Regions from separate parts of the Homo sapiens genome. Here region 2 is linked to region 1. The links are contacts of gene promoters, found by promoter capture Hi-C in blood cells and fetal thymus (Javierre and others, 2016). All regions are on one chromosome and are shown on one strand. Each heading gives the region's core, a stretch centred on a gene start or on the middle of the fragment in contact. The rest is flanking DNA. Distances are from core to core; before and after follow the strand shown.

Region 1 (6,377 bases), core at 2,815-5,314:
GCAAGGTTTTGAAAGGAAAAATGGAAAACTGTATTTTATTTTCATTAACTTAGATTACAAGAAGAAGGTATTAGGGTTGATGTAGCAGTCTTTTGATGGAGATTTGTTAGCTCAAAGGGCATCTGAGAGTCTAAAGTTCCAACCATTCATGATCACCGAATGGGCTAATGCACTTAAAAAATCAGTCTGCATGGCCAGGTATGGTGGCTCATGCCTGTAATCCCAACACTTTGGCAGACCAGGGTGGGTGGATCACCTGAGGTCAGGAGTTCAAAACCAGCCTGACCAAAATGGCGAAACCCTGCCTCTACTAAAAAAACAAAATTAGCTGGGCATGGTGGTGCATGCCTGTAATCCCAGCTACTAGGGAGGCTAAGGCAGGAGAATCTCTTGAACCTGGGAAGCAGAGGTTGCAGTGAGCTGAGATCATGCCATTGCACTCCAGCCTGGGCAACAAGAGCAAAACTCCATCTCAAAAAAAAAAAAAAAAGTCAGTCTGTCATCATCAATAAACAAGTAAAATTTTGTTGGATTTTCTTAAATATTTAACTACCAGATTATGACAAAACTGTGCATATTTTAAATTGATCCTGAATCTCTATAAAAATGGCATTTGTGAAATTCCACAAATGTTAGATACTATAAGTTTAATGAGCTGTGGACTAAGAAATCATTCTGTTTTGAAATATTTAAGCCTTCCTTCTTAGTCCTGAACTAGCTAAGGAGCTGCACTTCCAAAATGCATTTAAAAAAAGAAAATTTAACCAGGGGCATATAAACAATATTATAATTGAAAATAGTATCTACCCAACTAATCAGCGTAAATTGAATTTAATGAAGGATTACTGTTATGCATTTATTACCCTTATAGGTCAATGAAATATAGTTTAGTTCAATTGGATTTTTTTTTTTTTTTTTTTTTTTAGGATAGATTCTCACTCTGTCACTCAGGCTGGATTGCAGTGGCAGGATGACAGGTCACTACATCCTTGACCTCTTGGGCTCAAGTGATCCTCTCACCTCAGCCTCTCTAGTGGCTGGGACTACAAGTGTGCACTACCACGCCCAGCTAATTTTTGTAGTTTTTGTAGAAATGGGGTTTTGCCATGTTGTCCAGGCTGGTCCTGAGTTCCTGGGTTCAGGCAATCCTCTTCTCTCAGCCCTCCAAAGTGCTAGGATTACAGACAGGCGTGAGTGCCCAGCCAGGCGTGAGCACTCAGCCAGCTTTGACTTTTGTTGGAAATAATTTTTAAGCCTTTGTCAGAAATGGCACAAAGAACTGATGTAGGAATTTACAGCCTTTTGAGAGTTATCTCCTTTATAGTCAAAAGGATACAGAAATAAAAGTTAAATTACAAAACTGATCAATATCATGTTCTTAAACATTATTTGTATCATAACTTTTAAAAAATCATGTTTCTTAGTTTTTTTAAAAAATAGAATTTTTAAAAACATTTAGCAATATTTAAAAAACTTTTGCATTATCAATCTCTGTTTTTTGTCGATTTTTAGGAAAAATATATATTGCATTATTTTTCATTGTGCTATTTGGCGTTTCTCAAAGAATGACTATGTTGTGCATGAGAATTATCTGAACTGTGAAAAATGTGGACTCACAGGTCATATTCTCATATCAAATGCTAATTTGATCCCTGGGGTTTGGATCCAAGCATCTAGATTTTTAACAAACATTGTAGATGATTTTTTCCCCTAAGGTCTGGGAACCACTGGTATAAGCGATTTTTAGCTCTTCAGACAGACATAAGATTTTGAATGCTAATTAAAATGGCTGCTAATTTGTGAATAATTTCTAATTGAACCCCAGGCAATCTAAAGAGATAAAAAATTCATTGTGAAAAACACAAATAACAGTGCAAAATAAATTGTTAATTGACCTTTTAGAATCACTAATAATATAATTGCTTTGTAGAAAACCTTTTAAAGCTGAAATTTAAAAAATATTGTTTTTAAAAATTACCAAGATAGCTACTATAAAATATGATTACATGCCATGGGATGAACTATATCTCCCCAACATTTGTATGTTGAAACCCTAACCCTCGGGCCTTTGGGAGGTGATTAGGTTTAGATGAAATCGTGAAGATTGAGCCCTCAGATGGAATTAGTGCCCTTATAAGAAATCTGAGAGCTTATGCTGTCTCTGTTCTGTCTGTCTTTCTCTCTCTCTCTGCCATTTGACACAATGAGAAAGCCACAATCTGACAGCCAAGAAGGGGGCCCTCACCACAACCTGGCCATGGCAGCCTCCTGATCGTCGACTTGCAGCCTCCAGAACTGTGAGAAAATTAATTTCCGTTAAGTCACCCAGTTTATGGTACTTTCTCAAACTAAGACACCATAGAAGTGTAAGTTTTAAAAATATTAATACATTTAGTGTTATTAATTCCTGTCCCTGCACATATAACACAATGTTCTGTTATAAAGTTAAAAACAAATTAGAATCTTCCTAATTCAGTATGTTCTAAGAAATACTACTTGACAATAATCAATAAAATAAATTTGCAAAACTTGTCAATGATGTGTCCCATGTCAAATCAAATAAAGATAGCCTTTCTTGGATAGGTTGTTGGAAAATGGTTGTATCAACTGAATTTTTCATGTTTTACTTCAGATTTTCAATTTTAAGTTTTGTTTATAGATTTGATTAAAATAAAGGTTATTATGAATAGGTTATTAATAAAGGTTATAAAGTTCTGTGCCTATGATGTGTTATAAATGGTGTGTTCAGCTTTACTAGTTAATGCTGTTGTATTTGATGTCGCTTCAGTGACCTTTTTTGTTAGTTTATTGTTACTTAAAATTAAGCAAAATCTTTCTTGCATGAAATCTTCTTGATTAATTATTGCCATATAGAATTTTCATTCACCTAATCTTTTTTTTTTTTATTTGAGACAGAGTCTTGCTTTGTTGCCCAGGCTGAAGTGCAGTGGTGGCATCTCGGCTCACTGCAACACTGCAACGTCTGCCTCCTGGGTTTAAGAGATTCTCCTGCCTCAGGCTCTGGAGTAGCTGGGACTATAGGCGGGCACCACCACCCCCCGCTAATTTTTGTATTTTTAGTAGAGACGGGGTTTTACCATGTTGGCCAGGTTGGTCTCGAACTCCTGATCTCAAATGATCTGCCTGCCTCGGCCTCCCAAAGTGCTGGGATTACAGGCGTAAGCCACCGCGCCTGGTCTCATTCGCCTAATCTTTATTGTCTACTATATTCAAAGTGTTGAGTGTGACAACAAGTCATTTAAAATTTAGTCTGGATTCTCAAGAGTTTGTAATATAATGAGGAAAAAATCCCAACGACTTTCTTTTACTCAGATCTCCATAATGTCATTTGCCATCAATAGTTTGGAATATCACTGAAGTCCAAGGGCCTGTGGCTACCCAATATTCCAAATACAATATAATTTGGTTCAAATAAGATATTAAGAACTTTGGTCAAGAACTTTGGTCAAACACAGGAGATCTGGAATCTAACGGCATGTCTTTGGCAATTCACAACCTCTCCCTCTACACGTTTCTCCATGTAGAAAGTAAAGGCCTTGGAAAGGATTGATGAAAACCAACCCTAAAACTCCACGATGCCTTTTTCTGTACTCCGAATCTAAAAGGGTGAGCTATGAAGTAAAACTCTGCACTTGGTCCAAGTCATTGAAATATTTGCAAACGATGCTAGAGCTCGAAAAGAGCAAAGATAGCAGAAACCGTCCAGAGAAAGTAACCTACTGCTGAAGCTCTGCAAACTTGAGCAGTCAACCAACTTCACCGCTCACAAACGTTTGGCCGCTAGGCATTGTGACTTTCTGCCCAGATAAAAGTCTTTTTTTCTTTTGTCTCCTTTTTTTCTTCCTCCCTGCTTTGCCGCGTGAGATTACCACTCCTCGGGTCAGCTCGCGAACGCCAGGGAGGCGAGTGTGAAACACACGCGCCAACACCCCTCCTCCTCCTCGTGCGCTCCTCCTTCCTACAGAAAAATGTGTTTCTAGGCAACGGCGGGCGGCGGCGTCACTTCCTGCCATTTAAACTCAGGTCCCCACCCCTCGCAGCCCCTTCTCCTCGTTTCCACCCCTCCCCCCTCGGTCGTGGGCCTCATTCACGCTTCCCCGGGCTTGGGGAGGGGGCGGAGGCCCGGCGTGACAAGCGGCCCAGACTCCCGTGGGCGCCGCACACCTGTTGTTTGCAGCAGCCAGCGACCCGCACTACCGCTCTCGGCGGGCGGGGAAGCGGCCGCAGCGGAGCCGACCCGGCAGGTGGCCGCGGGCGGGGCCGGCGAGCGAAAGTGCGCGGGGGCCCGACCACCGCGGGGCCGGGACGCGATGGCGGCGGCAGAGCCCGCGAGCTCGGGCCAGCAGGCGCCGGCAGGGCAGGGGCAGGGCCAGCGGCCGCCGCCGCAGCCTCCGCAGGCGCAAGCCCCGCAGCCGCCCCCGCCGCCGCAGCTCGGGGGCGCCGGGGGCGGCAGCAGCAGGCACGAGAAGAGCCTGGGGCTGCTCACTACCAAGTTCGTGTCGCTGCTGCAGGAGGCCAAGGACGGCGTTCTGGATCTCAAAGCGGTGAGCTCCGGAGGCGGGGACGGGGGCGGACTTCGGAACCCGTGGCCCCCGGGGAAGCCCAGCCCCTCGCCGCGTGGGTCTAGCGGCGTGGTGTAGACGCGCCTTGCGGGGACCCGGGACCGGGCAATCCGAGGACCATGTGGCCTGCGCCCGGGTCGTGGACGCCGGGATGGGGGAGGGACGAGGGACCAGGATGGCACCGAGCGGACGCGTAACCAATGGGGCCCGGCGCCACGCTGGGCTCTCGACAAAGAGCCCAGGACCTCGAGCGCGCCCGCGTGGCTTCTGTCTCCGGGCGCAGGGACCTGAGGGTAACCGAGTGTCTGTTGCTCTGCGTCCACCTGTGGCAGAGGCTCACGGGGTAACGGGCGCTTTGCCCGGAGACACCGTGGATATCGATTTTGCTGTTAAGAATGGATGGTTTTAATAGGCGATTCCAGTTGGAACCATGTTCCTGTAGTTTAAATAAAAAGGAGGAAAAACAAAACCCAGTCTGCCATCTCTACCAGATGAAAGAAAAAAAAAAAAGAGTACTTCTTTCCACGCCCCTCCCCGATAAAATAGTATTAAATCTTCCTTGTGCACTTCTTTCATCACCCTGATAGTTAGGAGGGGTATTTGATTTGTGACTTCATTTGGCATGTGTCATGGGTTTCCAAAAGTGAGATCTGCTGTCACACGAAAAGGGGATATTTTACAACTTTCACCCAAAGAGGTGGAAGTGCTCAGTAAACTCTCTCCCTGCGTCGTCCTTTACAGCGTTCAGATTTTTCAAACAGGAGCAGGCATCAAAAGCTGTTCTGTCATACAGAATGACTTAACCGATCTAGGAAGGATTTGGAAGAATTCAACAGCGCTCAGGATAATGAGAATGTGGTCACTCCGCGCGAAGTTTAAGAACTAAAGTTTTAGAAACAAACAAACAAAAAACACTAACTGCCCAATAATCACTGCAAATCCCCTTTGACTCCCTAAATGTGGCCTTACTTGGAGGATTGGCCCCAGCTCCCAGGGGAGTGCCTGGACCACCTTACCTGGCTTGAGAGTGTCACTGCATCCTCAAGGCTCTGCATAAAGCAGTGGCAGCTCCCTGAATGTAAGGACCAAGACTTGCAGGGGCCAACTCTTCTGCTAGAGGCCCTCCTCCAGTGTAGCCCAAGGGGAAGTAGATCTTTTCAGTGCCCTCTCCTTTCCCTGGATGTAGTTGGTGTTCAATCAGTGATTGTTGAACTGAATTACCTAAATTGTTCAACTTCATACAACTGAGGCATGCTGCACATATTTTGCATTTTGGTAAGTAATTTCTACTATTTTCTTTTTGATATGTTATTCCTGGAATTTTTTTCCCACCTCTGGAAATTCCTTGTTCTCTTTTTTCCACCACAGCCCCTTCTTCCTTTCTCTCCCTGAAAGTGATTTATGGCATGTGTAGTATTTAAATTGTAGTGAATTAAAATGGATTCTGTTTAAAGAATTTCACAGGAAGTCATGAAGTTATCAGAGAAAGCCAGGAATGTTACAAAGCACAGGTGGCAAACTGCTGTTCAAAATCTAGAAATTCAGCTGTAGCCTGTGACTTTGGTGTAAGAAAATCAGGGAAGTTTGGGGTTTTCCAGGTAAAACTGAACTCTGACGGCTGGACTTTGAGGGCTTCTCCCTCAGCTTGCCTCAGGATATGGTGGAACTTTGCCCTTTCTTGACTTGAAATTCTTTAGCTTCCTCCTGTTTCATCTGTGGCTATATAATTGCCCTACAGAAGTCACAGAGGCAGTGAGTAGGATGTAAAGTTTGGTATTTCATGACAATAATTGC
Region 2 (6,764 bases), core at 2,058-4,557, 530 kb before region 1:
GTTTTGCTTTATAAGCCAAATTGAAATTTTATTATTATTATTAAATGAATACATCCTAATCACATTTAGGATGTGACTAATATGTTGGGTCTCAATTGTCATGGTATCTTATGTTGTAATTACTGAATATATTATTTTTACTGTGTTTTCCCCCCACTATGTTGTGTTTTTGTTGTTGTTTACATCATTTAACTTGTTTATACTACATTTTAACTTGTTTATACTATATATTTATACTATATTTATGAAGATTTCTATTCCAGCTCTAGTGGTTATTTTTGGTTTAATATTTTATATAGTAATCTTAATTTTTCTGTTTCTGTTTTCTCCATTTTAAAATTTTTACAATCTCTTCTGTCAATTTTAATTGGTATCTTTCAAATCCTATCTAAGACATGGACAATAGTTAATGAAATGATTCTACTTTCCTTTCTCCTTTTCCATGTTTTCTTTTTTAAGTTTTATTTTTGTGAGAATATATTATGTTTACATATTATTCTTTTACCCAAGATTAAGACTTTGTAGTCTCAGTTCTTTGTCTTAGGTCTGCTAGTAAAAATATGAAATACCCCCAGTCCTTTGGTCAGACTTGGTTGGATGAAGCTCATCCTCTAGCAGATTCCTTTGAAAGGACACATAAGTGTGTGTTTTGCACATTCAAAACTTTTTTCTATTCCTTTCACACTTCAAGGACTTAGCTGATGTCAGAATTTCTAAATTTCTTGAAACTTCTGCTTCATGTTGGTTTTATTTTTGAGAGGTCTGATTGCCTGTCTATTCTCATGCTTTTGTACCTTGTCATTTCATTTCCTGGAGACCCTGAGGATACTTTATGTTTTTTTAAGTCTAATAGTTTTACTTGAGTATGGTTTGGAATTGCTCACACCAGTTCAATTTTCCTTAATACATCCTTTCAAGATGCAGATTCAGGTCTTCTTTTGTTTTCTGGAAAGTTTCCTTGACCTATAGTTTTAAATATTAGTTCTCTTTCATGGTTTTGGTTTTCTTAGTGAAAGGCTCCAGATATGCAAATCTCGGACATCCTTTACTTAGCTTCCATTTCAAGCATCTTCTCTCTGACCCTTTTTCTTTTATTTTTTTTTAAATAAAAATGTCATTTACATTACCCTGGTTGTTTTTCTCTTTATTCAATACCCTTTATAAAATTGTCATTTGAATTCATATTTTTGGTCATTTTGTAACTTACTTTTCAATTCTGATATTTAATTTTTTTATTTCTTTCTTGGGTTCAATTGATTCTCATTTTATTTCTTCCTGTTTTTGTCCTTTGCTGCTTTCAGTGTTTATCTTTCTAATTCAGCATACTTTGAAAAAATTTCCAAATGCTCATTTGAGGATATTTAATTTAGTTTGGGGGATTGTATTATAGGTCTCTTAAGTTCTTTGGTTGGTTTTATGGGAAAAATTTTCATCAGCTGAAATGCGTCAATTCAATTTAAGTGATTTTTCAAAATAGTTGTGTGTGGATGTGGTCTGATTTTTTTTCTATGGCTATACTCTTCATAAATTGAGAGTGCCCACTTCTTTCAGTTCAGCCCAAATCTGTGTAATTTCTTTTATGAATGGTGTTTTGATTGCAGTGTTGTGGGCGGAGGGATTGGAGTGTTTTATTCCTTTTTGTTTTCTTTGTTTCTTTCCTTTCCAACTTCATACATCTGACTTCCCCCTTCCATCTACTGTCAATAACTCCCTGCTGTTGCCACTTCTGGCACCACTTACTTTCGCTAAACCCAGTGTTAGGAACCACCAAGTTCTGACCTGTGTTCAGCATTTTGGTATTTGTATTGAACTTTCTCACTTTGATGATGATTTTGTTTGTGTTTTATCTAATTCATCTAGAATCCTACTCTTTTTTAGTTCTTAAGTTTCCTCTCCTTCTTTCTCCACACCCACAGGCAATGGAAATACTTCCTAGTGCTCCTGGATGTGTGAATCATCTGTGGTTTTGTTTGTTCCCCTTGTTGGTTTTATAGTTTTTTGGGAGAAGGATCAATGGGGAGATTCAAGCTCAGGACGCCAACCTTGTTCTCCAAGCCTATAGGTCTTTAAGATCTGGAGGTGAACAGAGAAGATGTTAATGAGAAAGTTATATTAAACAAAGCCTTGAAAAGGATTAGAAAGTTGTGCAGTGGGATATTGGATGGGGATGCATTTCAGGCAGAGGAAACAGCATGATGGTCTTGAGGTGTAAGCATCTCTGGCATGTTTGCGGAACAGAAATGAGGGGAGCTGGACTATGGATGTGCAGGTGAATATGGAAAAGAAGAGTAAGATGAAAGGTCAGAGAAGTAAGAGGGTGATGTGTATTTGTAAGGACTGAATAAACATGCCTGAAGATAGAAATTGGAGAAGGTGGTATTCAAATCTATCTACATGATTTCACACCTTGTGTTCTTTTCACAACATAATGTTGCAATTCATAAAGAGATTTTATTAAGTTAACCTATAATGAAATATAACCCAGAATATGCAGTTTTGGAGCTCACAAAAGAATCTTCTAGTGTGAGAGAATGATAGGTCTTTGTGGACTCAATTTATTATCTCTAGTATTTACCTTTCCCTTGAAGAGAACTGATAAAACTCCTGGTGTCATGAAGCTTACATTCCATGGAGGGAGATACACAAGAAACAATATGTAAGTAAAAGACACAGTATGTTATGGTGATCATTATTAAACAGGAAAGAAGGATAACGAGTGCTGGAGAGATGTTCAGAATTTTAGGCAAGACAGCTATGAAAGAGCTTACTGAAAAAGTGACATTTGAATGAAAATCCTGGAAGATGTGAGTTAGTGCAAGGTGCTTAATCATTTTGTACCTAATTTTCTCATCTGTAATTTGGGGAAGGATTACATTAAATGGTCCATGTCAAAGTATTTCCCTATACAGTAGTAGGTAATGGGTGCTCTTTGCATAGCTGTCTTTTCAATGTCCAGGTTTAAAGTTAGTACCACAGAATATTGTGTTAGGGACTCTCCAGCAGAGTGTAAATGCTTGAGCATGTGCGCACATGCGTGCACACACACACACACACGACATTGCCGCTTCATTCTGGCAAAGATCATTTTGGTCTCTGATTAAACATTCCAGTATATCACCTGTGGAGGTAGACTCCTGCAGACACATTAAAGCAAGTTTTCATTAGCAATTAGAAAACATCAGATTCCACAGGTGCCACATAAATTTGCCAGTTTATCTTAATTCATCAACTGCTGTCAGCATCCATGGCTCAAGCTCCCCATCATAAACAAAAAATGAGGAAGAAAAGTTTATGTTTTATTCATTCAGTACTAATTTGCATGTGGTTTGATTAGAAAGTAAAGCAATGCAGTCAGTAGATGGTGCCAGAGGGTTGCTTTTCACTGCAAGGCTAGAATTAGTTTGCTGAAGATAATCTTTTGTCCAATGATTCTGATTCCTTTTCCCTGGCCATGCTAAACATTTTTCACACGGGTGAACTATTAACATAAGAAAAATCTAAAACTTTAGAGTATATCCACATTACTATGCATGGAATAAATCATTATACATCTTATTAAAATATTTAAATGTATAAATTTCAAAAGAGGAAAATATTTAATTCTCATGTTTTCTAATCATAAAAAGGATGTCTTAAGCATTTTGATGAAATTATTAATATATTATTTGAATTTATATTCAATGCATTAAGTTGAATTATGAATATGTATGTGTATTATTTATATATGTATATATAAAATTTAAATAATACTATAATATCTTAACAAAAGTGATACAGGGAACACATGGTGGTTCCATCTACCTATCTGAGAAGATTTTCTCACCAAATCTTTTGGAGTTGTTTCTTCTGGAGGGAAAATGATAGTCTTATTTATCTATCATCCCTTTAAGCATAACACCACATGGTGCTCATTCATAGAGTAAATATTTGTTAAATGAATTTCTCACAGTGATATCTTATTCTCAAGACCTCCCTCCCTTTGTGTTATTTTTATAAAAAGCTTATTAATCATATTCACTCATTTATTAGGTTCACATAAGGATTGCATATGTTGTCACCAAAACTCTTCTATAAATCCCTTCAGGTTATAGACCATGTTAATCTTTAACTTTCTAAAATTTATTTAAATCTTCTCCCATTTTTTAGGTTGCCTGTTCACTCTGATGGTAGTTTCTTTTGCTGTGCAGAAGCTCTTCAGTTTAATTAGATCCCATTTGTCAACTTTGGCTTTTGTTGCCATTGCTTTTGGTGTTTTAGACATGAAGTCCTTGCCCATGCCTATGTCCTGAATGGTAATGCCTAGGTTTTCTTCTAGGGTTTTTATGGTTTTAGGTCTAACGTTTAAGTCTTTAATCCATCTTGAATTAATTTTTGTATAAGGTGTAAGGAAGGGATCCAGTTTCAGCTTTCTACATATGGCTAGCCAGTTTTCCCAGCACCATTTATTAAATAGGGAATCCTTTCCCCATTGCTTGTTTTTCTCGGGTTTGTCAAGGATCAGATAGTTGTAGATATGCGGCGTTATTTCTGAGGGCTCTGTTCTGTTCCATTGATCTATATCTCTGTTTTGGTACCAGTACCATGCTGTTTTGGTTCCTGTAGCCTTGTAGTATAGTTTGAAGTCAGGTAGTGTGATGCCTCCAGCTTTGTTCTTTTGGCTTAGGATTGACTTGGTGATGTGGGCTCTTTTTTGGTTGCATATGAACTTTAAAGTAGTTTTTTCCAATTCTGTGACGAAAGTCATTGGTAGCTTGATGGGGATGGCATTGAATCTATAAATTACCTTGGGCAGTATGGCCATTTTCATGATATTGATTCTTCCTACCCATGAGCATGGAATGTTCTTCCATTTCTTTGTATCCTCTTTTATTTCATTGAGCAGTGCTTTGTAGTTCTCCTTGAAGAGGTCCTTCACATCCCTTGTAAGTTGGATTCCTAGGTATTTTATTCTCTTTGAAGCAATTGTGAATGGGAGTTCACTCATGATTTGGCTCTCTGTTTTTCTGTTATTGGTGTATAAGAGTGCTTGTGATTTTTGTACATTGATTTTGTATCCTGAGACTTTGCTGAAGTTGCTTATCAGCTTAAGGAGATTTTGGGCTGAGACAATGGGGTTTTCTAGATATACAATCATGTCATCTGCAAACAGGGACAATTTGACTTCCTCTTTTCCTAATTGAGTACCCTTTATTTCCTTCTCCTGCCTAATTGCCCTGGAGAAAATTTTTGCAACCTACTCATCTGACAAAGGGCTAATATCCAGAATCTACAATGAACTCAAACAAATTTACAAGAAAAAAACAAACAACCCCATCAAAAAGTAGGCGAAAGACGTGAAAAGACACTTCTCAAAAGAAGACATTTATGCAGCCAAAAAACACATGAAAAAATGCTCACCATCACTGGCCATCAGAGAAATGCAAATAAAAACCACAATGAGATACCATCTCACACCAGTTAGAATGGCAAACATTAAAAAGTCAGGAAACAACAGGTGCTGGAGAGGATGTGGAGAAATAGGAGCACTTTTACACTGTTGGTGGGACTGTAAACTAGTTCAACCCTTGTGGAAGTCAGTGTGGCGATTCCTCAGGGATCTAGAACTAGAAATACCATTTGACCCAGCCATCCCATTACTGGGTATATACCCAAAGGACTATAAATCATGCTGCTATAAAGACACATGCACACGTATGTTTATTGCAGCACTATTCACAATAGCAAAGACTTGGAACCAACCCAAATGTCCAACAATGATAGACTGGATTAAGAAAATGTGGCACATATACACCATGGAATACTATGCAGCCATAAAAATGATGAGTTCGTGTCCTTTGTAGGGACGTGGATGAAATTGGAAATCATCATTCTCAGTAAACTATCACAAGAACAAAAAACCAAACACCGCATATTCTCACTCATAGGTGGGAATTGAACAATGAGAACACATGGACACAGGAAGGGGAACATCACACTCTGGGGACTGTTGTGGGGTGGGGGTAGCGGGGAAGGATAGCTTTAGGAGATATACCTAATGCTAAATGATGAGTTAATGGGTGCAGCACACCAGCATGGCACATGTATGCATATGTAACTAACCTGCACATTGTGCACATGTACCCTAAAACTTAAAGTATAATAATAATAAAATTAAAAAAATTAAAATAAAATAAAATTTATTTAGACCAATGCCTGGCAATAAGGATAGCATGATATGAATGCCATAACTATGAATAATACAGTTAATATAGTTAATAATTATACTATAATTAATAACTTGTATGGAACCACAATATTAAATTTCTTATTTCTAGGCACAAGCAGTGAAGATAAAATACTTATGACTAAATTCAATCCTAATTATGAGACAAATAGGGAAATTTGCTGAAACACAGAAATTTACTTCAACCTCCAGGTTTTGGCAGCAATTAAATTTAGAGATAGAGGCAAATGTTTTCCATAGAATAAACACAGCATTTGAATTTATTTGATCTTGAAAAGTTTAAAGTGTCAAAAATAAGTAACAGAATACATAAATATGTCATTTGATATACTTTACAGACTTTGGAATTGACAAAAGTTAAGGTGCTGATCAAAAATTATGACAATTTCATAAAACGTGTTATATGAAAAAAACTTAAGAGAAATAGACTTTTGAGAGAAAGTTGAGGAAATAAAGATAATTATTGAATTAGATTTGGAGCAAAGTAGGTAATGTATTGAGCCAATTGTTGGAAAGGAACAGGATGTCAGATTCTGTAGAT

Evidence for each region. Contacts are between HindIII fragments. The CHiCAGO score rates a contact against its expected background, and 5 or more counts as called.
Region 2: a fragment that was not itself captured here is called in contact with the fragment with the promoter of E2F5 in region 1 in 1 of 17 cell types (M0 macrophages); the score reaches 5.4 in M0 macrophages.

What each region holds. Positions count from the first base shown.
Region 1 is chr8:85,173,090-85,179,466 of GRCh38, forward strand. E2F5 (E2F transcription factor 5) reads left to right here and starts at 4,065. Exons shown (of 8, transcript NM_001951.4): 1 at 4,065-4,565. The coding sequence starts at 4,332. It overlaps E2F5-DT (E2F5 divergent transcript), which reads right to left and starts at 3,952. Exons shown (of 3, transcript NR_134311.1): 1 at 3,742-3,952. RefSeq lists an enhancer at 3,726-3,895 and silencers at 3,996-4,525, 4,536-4,925. The HindIII fragment of the contact is 15,711 bases long and covers 1-6,377 here.
Region 2 is chr8:84,645,082-84,651,845 of GRCh38, forward strand. All of the region lies in intron 2 of RALYL (RALY RNA binding protein like), which reads left to right. Among named protein-coding and RNA genes, the nearest start is that of LRRCC1, 460 kb to the right of the region's middle. The HindIII fragment of the contact is 1,382 bases long and covers 2,617-3,998 here.